Regions from separate parts of the Homo sapiens genome. Here all the other regions are linked to region 2. The links are contacts of gene promoters, found by promoter capture Hi-C in blood cells and fetal thymus (Javierre and others, 2016). All regions are on one chromosome and are shown on one strand. The core of a region is centred on a gene start or on the middle of the fragment in contact, and the rest is flanking DNA. Distances in the headings are between cores, read along the strand shown. Region 1 has its middle 5.9 kb from the start of MIR4294. Region 2 holds the start of C10orf71-AS1 (C10orf71 antisense RNA 1). Region 3 overlaps WDFY4 (WDFY family member 4).

Region 1 (3,625 bases), core at 1,126-3,625, 310 kb before region 2:
CGTGCTCAGTTATGCAATAATGACAATGAAAGTTATCATAACCATTATTATAAGATCATGTATGTCCAGTATCTGTGTGGCCAACATCAGGAAGGGAATATCTTTCTACCAGTTGCTCAGGCCGAAAACCTCTGAGACATCTCTGAGTATGCCCCTCCCTCATGCCTCACGTCTAAGCTCTCAGGACATCTCAGCCCCAAAAAACTGTCAGAAATTGAAACTAAAATCTCAATACCACTTAGAAACACATCAGAAATATGAACCACTTAGGACTAATATGACTAAAATACATATAATCTGAAAACTACAAAAACATTGTTGAGGGAAATCAAAGACCTAAATAAATGGAGAGCTACACCGTAGCCATAGATTAAGAGACCCAATACTATTGAGATGTCAGTTCTCCCCAAATTGAGCTACAGATTCTATCTAACCCCAGTGAAAATTACAATGGGCTTTTTTGTAGAAACTGACAAACTAATTCTGAAATTCATATGAAAATGAAAGGATCTAGAATAAGTTAGAGCCTAAAAACATTGAATGAAGAACAAAGTTGGAGGATTTACATTATGTGATTTCAACTTATTAGAAAGCTTCAGTAATAAAGACAGTGTGCTTTTGACATTGAGGACAGAGAAATCAATGGAACAGAATGGAGTCCAGAAACAGACCCATGTGTGGTCAACTGGCTTTGAAAAATGTGCCAAGGAAATACAGTGGAAGAAAGAGCCCTTTCATCAGACAGCGTTGGAACAGTGAGGATCCATGTGCAATGAAAAAAACAGAACTGTGACCAACACCTCATGCCATCAAGAAAAATTAATTTTAAATAAATTTTAGACCTAAAAGTGAAACTTAAAATTATAAAATTTCTAGAAGAAAACCTAGGAAAACTTCTTTGTAAACTGGAGTTATTTAAATCACCCATTAAGAAAAAAAAATGATGAATTGAACTTTGTCAGACTTAAGATCTCCAGGTCATTGAAAGCCACTGTATTACTCAGGGTTCTTTAAAGGGGCAGAACTAATAGGATATATATATATATATATATATATATATATATATATATATATATATACACACACACACACACACACACACACACACACACACACACACATACATATATATGCATACATATATACATACATGTATATATATACACACCTACCTATATGTATACATATACATACATATATGCATCTATACACACACATACATACATATATGTGTGTGTGTATATATATATAAAGGGGAGTTTATTAAGTATTAACTTACATGATCACAAAGTCCCACAATAGGCTGTCTAAAAGCTGAGGTGCAAGGTGAGCCAGTCTGAGTCCCAAAACTGAAGAATTTGGGGTCTAATGTTTGAAGGCAGGAAGCATCCAGCATGGGAGACAGATGTAGGCTGAAGGCTAGGCCAGTCTCACCTTTCACGTTTTTCTGCCTGCTTTATATTTTCTGGCAGCTGATTAGATTGTGCCCACCAGATTAAGGGTGGGTCTGCCTTCCCCACCCCACTGACTCAAATATTAATCTCCTTTGGCAACACCCTCACAGACACACCCAGAATCAATACTTTTTTCAATCCAATTAAGTTGACACTCATTATTAACCATCACAAGGCCACCCCTTGTCAACTTGAACCCACACACATCTCCTGATATCATACATAATCTTCAAATAAAGAAAACAATAAGGTCATAATTACACCTAACTTAATAAAACTATCCTTTGTACAACCGGAAACACACCAATCCCCAACCCAAATACTATTACCTGAAGTTAGCAACACTTAAATGCTGACATGAAGTCAATAAATCTTATGTCACATGTTAAAGAAAAAGGAAATAAAATGAAGATATTTTCTTAGTACAAGTGTATACATGCACAAACCTGTTTTTAACGAAAGAAGGAGGAAACATTCATGACAGGTACAGTCCTCGTTTCTGCAGCTGGTCATGTAGTTGTAGCTGGTATCTATGACTACCTTCTTCAACTACCCATTCTGGATTCCCTCTGCCTTCAGCAAGCACCTCAACAGGTCGTGGTTTTTTTCCTGGTAGAGTGACCCAAACCTTCACTCCTGAGGGGTCTGGGTCATTTGTAGTCCTGCCTGAATTGGGCTGTTGTAGTTTCCCATTGATCTTAATCACAGCGCATGGTAATACTAGGAGACACCCAAGTGGATCTCCTGTATTCTTCCTTACCTCTGTTATGCATACTCTTCCTTACCTCTGTTATGGTGTAGCAGACTGATTTCATCTTGATAGTCCGGGTCAATCACCCCAGTCAACATTGTAACTCCCTTCTTAGCCTGTTGAAGGAGCCCAAAGTGTCCAGGTACAATCTTAACTTTCAGTTTAATGGAATTGTTGTTGTGTTTCCTGTTGGCAGTGTTCCTCTCTCAGGAACTAAGACCGCTAGGCCACCAGAATGTAATGTCATGGGAACAGGAAGGAAAAATTTTGTTAGTGGATCACTAGGGGTGATGGTGAGCGGTGCCACTTCCATTTCCACCCCCTGATTCTTGGGCCTATGAATCCTGGCTATAAGAGAAATAGTGCCATATATTGGACACTGATTCAGAGCATACATGGCCTTCTAGAGAACCTTGTCCCAGCCCTGCAAAGTATTGTCACCTAGCTGGCATTGTAATTGTGACTTCAAAAGTCCATTTTTACCGTTCTATCAATCCAGCTGCTTCAGGATGATGGAGAACGTGGTAAGACCAGTGAATTCCACGAGCATGAGCCCACTGCTGCACTTCTTTAGCCACAAAGTGAGTGCTTTGGTCAGAGGCAATGCTGTGTGGAATACCTTGATGGTGAATAAGGCACTCTGTGAGTCCGTGGATGGTAGTCTTGGCAGAAGCATTGCATACAGGATAGGCAAACCCATATCCAGAGTAAGTGTCTATTTCAGTGAGGACAAATCTCTGCCCTTTCCATGATGGAAGAGGTCCAATATAATCAACCTGCCACCAGGTAGCTGACTAATCATCCTGAAGAATGGTGCCATATAGAGGGCTCAATGTTGGTCTCTGCTACTGGCAAATTGGGCACTCAGCAGTGGCCATAGCCAGGTCAGCCTTGGTGAGTGGAAGTCCATGTTGCTGAGTCCATGCATAACCTCCATCCTGGCCACCATGGCCACTTTGTTCATGGGCCCATTGGGCGATGACAGGGGTGGCTGGGGAAAGAGGCTGAGTGGCATCCACAGAAACAGAATGGGTCATCCTATCCACTTGATTATTAAAATCCTCCTCTGCTGAGTTCACCCGTTGGTGAGTGCTCACATGGGATACAAGCATCTTCATGGTTTTTGACTACTCCGAGAGGTCTGTCCACATACCTCTTTCCCAAATTTCTTTGTCACCATTTTTCCAATCATGCTTCTTTCAAGTCCCTGACCATCAAGCCAAGCCATTGGCTACAGCCGATGAATCAGTATATAATCGCACATCTGGCCATTTCTCCTTCCATGCAAAGTGCACAACCAGGTGCACTGCTCAAAGTTCTGCCCACTGGGAAGATTTCCTTTCACCGCTGTCCTTCAGGGATGTCCTAGAAAGGGGCTATAATGCTGCAGCTGTCCATTTTCGGGTGGTGCCTGCATATT
Region 2 (3,556 bases), core at 471-2,970:
TGCTGAGGAGGGGAGGAAAGCAAATTAGGAAGACCAGCGGCCCTGCCGAAGCTTTCAGCTCATGTTACTCACACCCCAAAGCAAACTCCTCCATAAAATGAGGTTTAGTAATGCAACATTTTCTAACATCTGGAACAAAATGATTTGGGTCAAACAGATGACATATGAACTGACTGTAAATTTGTTTCAATGTGTACTGGGAGGGAGGGAAATTAACAAATATGTCAAATCCATGATCTATTAAGTATTGTTGTTTTCCATAAAGTTCTTCTGTTCAAGAAAAAAAGCAAGTCAATTTAAATTTTCTTTAAAGGAAAATAGTAAGTAAATGTTGATACAGATGGTTGAGGTGTAGCAAAAATCATGGGAAAAAATAACAAATAAATGACTAACATTTTGGGAAGCTTTGCAATAGACGAGCATATTCATGTACATGAGCTCCCCTGACCCTGAATCCCACAGAGCACAGGCATTCTCTCCACTTTAGAGATGGGTAAACTGAGGCTCAGGAAGGGTAAGTATGTGACATGTCAACTGACCAGGAAATAATGGAGCCAGGGCTCAAAATCCTGTGTACTTTTTAAATGTTGGCTCCCATCTCAAGTTGATGGCTTTTGTCTGACCTTTTGGCATGCGTTTGTTTTGGCAAATGGGGAGGTAGGGAGGTGGGTGGGTAAAATTGAGGGGTTCACTTTGGGCCTCCCTCAAAGCATCTCTGAGTGCGGAGCAGCAAGTAATCATCCCCACAGCGAGGTTCTGAAGCTCTCAGGGCAAAAGGCAAGTCTTGAGGCTCCCAGGAGGAGGCGGGTCTGAATGCTCCTGCTGGTTGGAATCTCACACCTTAGTCTGCAGGGCAAGGAGGAGCTGTTCTTTGTGACTTGGTTTAGACAAAAGTACATAGACCTGGGTCCCTGTGGCCCTGGCTGTCAGCCGGTTCAAGGCTGGAGGTGGTGCCAGGCCCCAGCTTGGGGCTGGGACACAGGTTGCTGCCCTTGAAGAGCCCACAGGGGCAGAAGGGACAGTCTACAAATAGACCCAAAGACACAGCACACTGCAAACTTGCAGAGGCTTTGAGCGCTGCACAGAGCAGGACACCCAGCGGGGGCCAGTCATCTCCGCTTTCTCAGGCCACAGTCAGGGAAGCATAAAAAAGAACCTTGGAGAGAAAGGGGGAAAAAAACCCACTCTTGCATTAAATCCTGGTAGCAAGCAGACTATCCTAGGGCCAGCTTGGGAGAGTAAGGAAGGCACTCTGGGAGCTGGCATGGCACAAGCCAAGGAAAAGCCAGTGGAAAAAGTTGGGGGATCTGTGGGCAGTTTGGGGAGCAGGTGACCCCAGCCTGAGACAGAAAGCAGCCATTGGGAAGGCAGGCATGAGCCCACCTCAGGGTTGAAGGGAGGCCAGCCCTTCCCAGAGGTGGAGAGGGGAGCCTGGCAGAACGGGACTTGTCCACTGGTGCTTGGACTTTGCAAACAACCGGGCTTGCTGTAGCCAAGCTTACCAAGTGGACACTTACCTTGCCTCTTCCCCGATTATTTCATATCCTTCTGTAACTCTCACCCTGAGACCCAGCCTGGCCTTCCCCTAGCTGCAGATTATTCTGCTCCAAAAGCACAGCAGAGGACGGCTCCTTACTCGAGGAATGCGGGCGGCGGTCGTCCAGAGCCGATGATGAAACGGGCTATTTCTGCCCCGGGACATCAGCAGGGCTCTGGGCTCTGGCTCCAAGGCACACACTCTCCTGTTTTTAATGTTTCCCTAAACAAATGTTTTCCTTCCCACCTCGGGATATTTTTATTTGACTCTAGGTGCTGGAATAGCTTTAGCAATCATTCTGGATTGAAGTTGGAATCGTGGTTAGGGTCCGGCTAAGCGGCAAGCAATTTCTCACTCCCCAAGTGATCTGTTACTCGTGGCTGATTTGGAAGTAAAAATAGCAGCTGAGGCTGTTTGTTTAATCTGACTGTTACTTGACACCACGCGGGTGTTGCAGTGCGGACTGTTTGCCTCTTCCCCACCAAGAACACCATTTGGTTTCCCCCGGCTGGGTCTCTATTTAGGTAAGCTTCGCGGACTTCCCGTGTCTGGCCGGCTTCTGGTCACTGATCTTCCTCAGGTGGGTAGGTTTGTGAGCTAGAGGAGGCTTGGGTCCTGAATCCACTCTCCTATCACCTTTGGGCAGCCTGGATAAAGAGGAAAGAAGTCTTGGCTGCTGGGCAGAGCCGGGTTTCTCTCCCATTCCCGAGGAGGCCTGAGCAGCTGGACACGCAGAGAGCGGAAGGTACAGCCCAGACACTTGTCTGGCTCCTTAGCGTGGGCAGGGAGGCTCAAGTTCATGGCGGGAGGGATGTTCCCGCTGGGCCGATGCTGTGCTGGGGAAGTAGTTCGGTGCCAGGGTGCTGTGCAGGGTGGTATGTGTGTGCCGGGAGCCCATTGGTGTTGGGGCTAAGGTTCTTGGTGTGCTGGATGGGCCTCGGGGACCACGTACCCGGAACCGTGTACATGTGTGACTTTGTCCTTAGGTGTCATCTGTCAGGGATCTCTGCTCCCACATGGCTGAGTGCACAGATGTGCCCAGGCCACTGCGCTGTCAAATGGGTGACCCCATGGTCCCAGGTTTTCAGCATTCAGGGCTGAGGGAGGCTGGCTTTCTTAGCTCCCCCAGCGCTGGGCCAGGCAGGGTCACACCAGCTGTAACAAAGAGAAAAACTGGTGACTGAGACGTTCTGGCCTGTGGGCTCTGCGAGCATGTGTGTCCCCAAAACAAAGCCCGCCACAGGCTGCCTGTTCTTACACACCCTGGGAGGGCCCCCACCAGACTCCCACAGGGTATGCTTGACTGAGTCTAAAATTACCTCTTTTATTTTCTGGTGGAGAAGAATTGAACATTGAGAACGGCAGTGGTCAATGTGTGTGGAAAGCTAGATAGCCTTAAGAAAAATCATTGTGTAGGCCTTTCAGGTAGCTCCCTAAGTATAGGAACCTGGGAAGCAGATTAAACAGATGTGTGTAGTAAATGAGGTCCTGTTTTCCAGCATTTGAGTTCCCTTTGCAGTAGTGGCTGGTAACTCTGGTCTGTGGTCTGAGCATCTGGTTTTGTAAATAAAGTTGTATTGGCACACAGCCACCTTCATTCATTTGCATATTGTCTAAAGCTGCTTCTACACTATATCAGCAGAAACCATATGGCCTGCAAAACTGAAAACGCTTACAATGTGGCCCTTTACAGAAAAAGTTTGCTGACCACTGTGTTACAAGAACACATCTTGAGATGGGTCAATTTAATACAAAAAAAAAAAAAAAAAAAGCAGTGAAAGTTCTTGCTGTTAGAATAGTTTGTAAGCCAGACCCTTCAGGACCAGTGGCTGGCTGGCTCCTGAGCCTCCTGCACCTTCCAGGGCCCACTTTTTAGGCCTGGCTGATACAGGAAATGTCCAGTTTGCTGTCACGGTGCTGGGAGGGTTAGCTTAGCAGTAGAATCACCAGACACACAGCGTGTCCATGTGGCCTGGGCTGAGCAGGGCAGATTGTGCTTATCGGGGTGATTTATAAATA
Region 3 (3,502 bases), core at 191-2,690, 320 kb before region 2:
GGCTGCAGTGAACTGAGATCATGCCATTGCACTCCAGCCTAGGCAACAGAGCAAGACTCCGTCTCAAAAAAAAAAAAAAAAAAAAAAAAAAACAACTCATGACATGAACTGCTCCCGGGTTCAAGATAGATGTAGGGCAGCACAAAACATCCAGGTGTGGCTAGCCTCTGGTTGGGTTATAAGTAAAAAAATGGTTTCTCCCCAGCAGAGCCTCCACCCCTGGAGATGAATGAAATGGAGAGGCTAGTCATGGACACGCACATGCACACACCCCCAGCTGCACAGACAACAGACTTGGGAATCACTGACTCACTCAGAATCTCCATTTCCTCATCCAGCACCCAGCTTTATAGGGAGGGTGAAGAATTCCCAAAAGTAGCTGAATTGAGGGTCCCTCTCCTAACCTGTGAGTCTCTGTCCCCAGGCCTTGTATGGACACACACAGGCTGTCACGTGCCTGGCAGCGTCAGTCACCTTCAGCCTCCTGGTGAGCGGCTCCCAGGACTGCACCTGTATCCTGTGGGATCTGGACCACCTCACCCACGTGACCCGCCTGCCCGCCCATCGGGAAGGCATCTCAGCCATCACCATCAGTGACGTCTCAGTAAGTCTCCTGTTTCTCAGTGTCCGTGTCCTCACCTTCGCAGTAGCATGGGGTACAACACTCAGGAGAAAGCCCAGAGACACAGAGACTCTAGCCACCCCAGAATGCTGAGAGGGCCCCCAATTGTGTGGAACAGTCGCTGTAGATCTCACTTGTAGCACCCAGGTCTAGCTTCAATGTCCGCTTCTTTACTTTCCTCCCTCTGGTGTTGGGGACAGTGGGAAGTGTCTGCTTTGCTGCGGGCACCAGGGGGCTGCAGCTGAAAAATTGGCTTTTAGGGAGGGTTTTGTTGGATGTGGCTGACTCATTTAGGTCTTTACCTTCAAATCAGTGTTGACTTGGCAGGTTTGGTCTTCATGGCAGTGCAAGCTTCTCTGCCTCTCCTTCCATACTGGCTAACAAAGACCAGGGAGATCGACTTACCGGTGTGAAATTTCTTCCAGACTGAAGCCCTGTCATGGGATATGGGGTTCCCTGAGGATGCAGAGGTTTCTGCATCTGCTCACAGAAAACCTAAGGGGCCCAGGGCATAAATAAAATGGGCAGAGGGCTCAAAAGAGGAGGGATGATATAGGAGCTTCCTGGTTCCAATTTTTGCTGAAAGTGGTGCTCCAGGTAGGCTTGAATTCAAAACTGGATTCAATGTTAGATGAGTAGATGGAGTGTGAATGGATGGGTGGATGGATGGGTAGATGAGTGGATGCATGGGTGGATGAATGGATAGATGGATGGACGGGTGGATAGATGAGTGGATGGGTAGATAGATAAATGAATGGATGGATGGATGGATAAATGAGCAGATAAATGGATGAATAGGTGGATGGAAAGATGGATGAAATGGATAATGGATTGGTAGATGGTGGGTGAATGGATGGATGGGTTGATGTATAGAAGGCATTGAAGCCTTCACCTGGGAGAATATAAAACCCATCAGGAATTGTGTCCCTAGACCCCAGAGAAGCCTGGCACCAGGACAAGTTGTCCTGCAGCCAACTGATTTCAGTCTGTGCTTGCTGGTTGTGGGGCAGAGAGGTATCAGACATGGCCTCTGGCCTCAGACAGACCATCCCTAACAATTCAGGAACTTCTAATGGATCCCAGCCCAGTGAGATGTGGAGGGGCACTGAGCACCCTACATCCCTTCTGTGATTAGGGCAAGGCTCAAAGGGATGGCCCCAGGACCTTGGTGACAGTGGCCACTATAGAATAAACAGGACTTGAGGAGGAAAGACTCAAATGTGAGCATATCAGGAGATACAATGGGGAAATTTCTCCTTAGAAATTCCCTCTTCAGGGACATTGCACAAGCTTATGAGCCACATGCAGTCATTGGAACTTCTGTACCCTGCCATCCACCAGGTGGCATCCAAAACTTCTTTATGGGGCAGGGCTGACCTACCAGGTGTAAGCTGTGTGTCCAAAGCCAGGGCTACCCTTCAGGCTGGATCTTCTGTGGCAGTCAGGGTGTGGTTGGGGAGTGGGATCTGGGAGGAGCCTGAGGGTGAGCCAGGTGCCTTCTGCCAGGAAAGAAGTATCTAAGCACATGACTGCAGTATGAAAAGAACCAAGAATTTACAACTGTGTGAAAACACAGCAGACCTGTAAGTCAGCTGGAAAGAAGTTTTGGGGTACCTTGGGGGTCTTCAGAGCATGACAGATTGAGAGTACTTGGGTGTACCAACTGGGTAGCTGAGCAAGTGGCTGATGGGCAGGCAGTGACTCCAGCTTAGAGTGATGCCAGCTCTCACTGCACAGGGCACCATTGTCTCCTGTGCGGGAGCACACTTGTCCCTGTGGAATGTCAATGGACAGCCCCTGGCCAGCATCACCACAGCCTGGGGCCCAGAAGGAGCCATAACCTGCTGCTGCCTGATGGAGGGCCCAGCATGGGACACAAGCCAGATCATCATCACCGGGAGTCAAGACGGCATGGTCCGGGTAGGTGTGTCTTGGGCAGAATGAGGACATGACACAAGAAACGTGTTCATCTCCATTCTTCTCACTTCCTCCAGGGGGCCAAACCTGCAGGTTGCATTTGAGACCATTCCAGAACGGGTACCTACAGCAAAGGAAGGGAAAAGACAAGGCTCTTTGCAGGGAAAAAGTAAATAAATAAAATTATATATATAGTATTACACACACAGACACACACATGCACACACACACAGACACACACTAAAATAAATACTGTTACAACATATAAAAGTTGAATGGTTAAATGCAAAAGATTATATCCCAATGCTAAAAGGAGATATTTGCGTCATCCATTCAAACCAAACTTGCCCACCCATCCACTAATTTATCTACCCACCTACCCATTTATCTCTCTACTCATCTACCCACCCATCCATCCACCCATCCATCTCTCTATCCACCCATCCACTCATCCATCCATCCATCCATCCATCCATCCATCCATCCATCCATGTATCCCTCCATGTATCCATCCATCCATCCATCCATGCAGGCTGAGGTACCTAGGCAGTCCCCTCATAGGACTTTATCTGTGGCCTCTGCAGAAAGCAGGGCATCCTGGGATGGCCTGGGCTTGGTGGGGTGTGGCCCACATCAGTGGGCCAGCCAGAGGAGCCTGGGGTGGCCGAGCTGCAGAGTATATTACTCTCCTGGGCCCCCCCAAAGCGTAAGTGAGGGTCTTCTGTGCACTCAGCACTCATTCATTCGATGTGGTCACTGAGCTCCTGGACTGGCCCAGTGCTGTGCTAAGCCTGGCGTGGGGCTCACAGAAGCATTTGAGAGGAGGCTGGTCCTTGCCCTTTGGTGATATAAAATCCAGACCCAGTGAATGAGAAGCCATTTTGAGTGAGTTGGCCTCAGGGCTCCCACAGTAGGCTTAGCGCCAAGGGCCAGACACAAGATGGGGGTGCCCAGCCACCCAGG

The links. The method cuts DNA at HindIII sites, captures the fragments that hold promoters and counts their contacts. A CHiCAGO score of 5 or more calls a contact.
Region 1: a fragment that was not itself captured here is called in contact with the fragment with the promoter of C10orf71-AS1 in region 2 in 2 of 17 cell types (M2 macrophages and M0 macrophages); the score reaches 5.7 in M2 macrophages.
Region 3: a fragment that was not itself captured here is called in contact with the fragment with the promoter of C10orf71-AS1 in region 2 in 3 of 17 cell types (M1 macrophages, M0 macrophages and total B cells); the score reaches 5.9 in M1 macrophages.

The regions. Positions count from the first base shown.
Region 1 is chr10:48,989,722-48,993,346 of GRCh38, forward strand. No RefSeq gene overlaps it. Among named protein-coding and RNA genes, the nearest start is that of MIR4294, 5.9 kb to the left of the region's middle. The HindIII fragment of the contact is 3,569 bases long and covers 592-3,625 here.
Region 2 is chr10:49,297,173-49,300,728 of GRCh38, forward strand. It overlaps C10orf71-AS1 (C10orf71 antisense RNA 1), which reads right to left and starts at 1,721. Exons shown (of 2, transcript NR_108038.1): 1 at 1,518-1,721. C10orf71 (chromosome 10 open reading frame 71) reads left to right here and starts at 1,998. Exons shown (of 3, transcript NM_001135196.2): 1 at 1,998-2,061. RefSeq lists a silencer at 1-51. The HindIII fragment of the contact is 569 bases long and covers 1,496-2,064 here.
Region 3 is chr10:48,974,438-48,977,939 of GRCh38, forward strand. It overlaps WDFY4 (WDFY family member 4), which reads left to right. Exons shown (of 62, transcript NM_001394531.1): 58 at 425-604; 59 at 2,360-2,542. LOC105378298 (a long non-coding RNA gene) reads right to left here. Exons shown (of 4, transcript XR_007062370.1): 4 at 2,542-2,663. Among named protein-coding and RNA genes, the nearest start is that of MIR4294, 9.4 kb to the right of the region's middle. The HindIII fragment of the contact is 939 bases long and covers 972-1,910 here.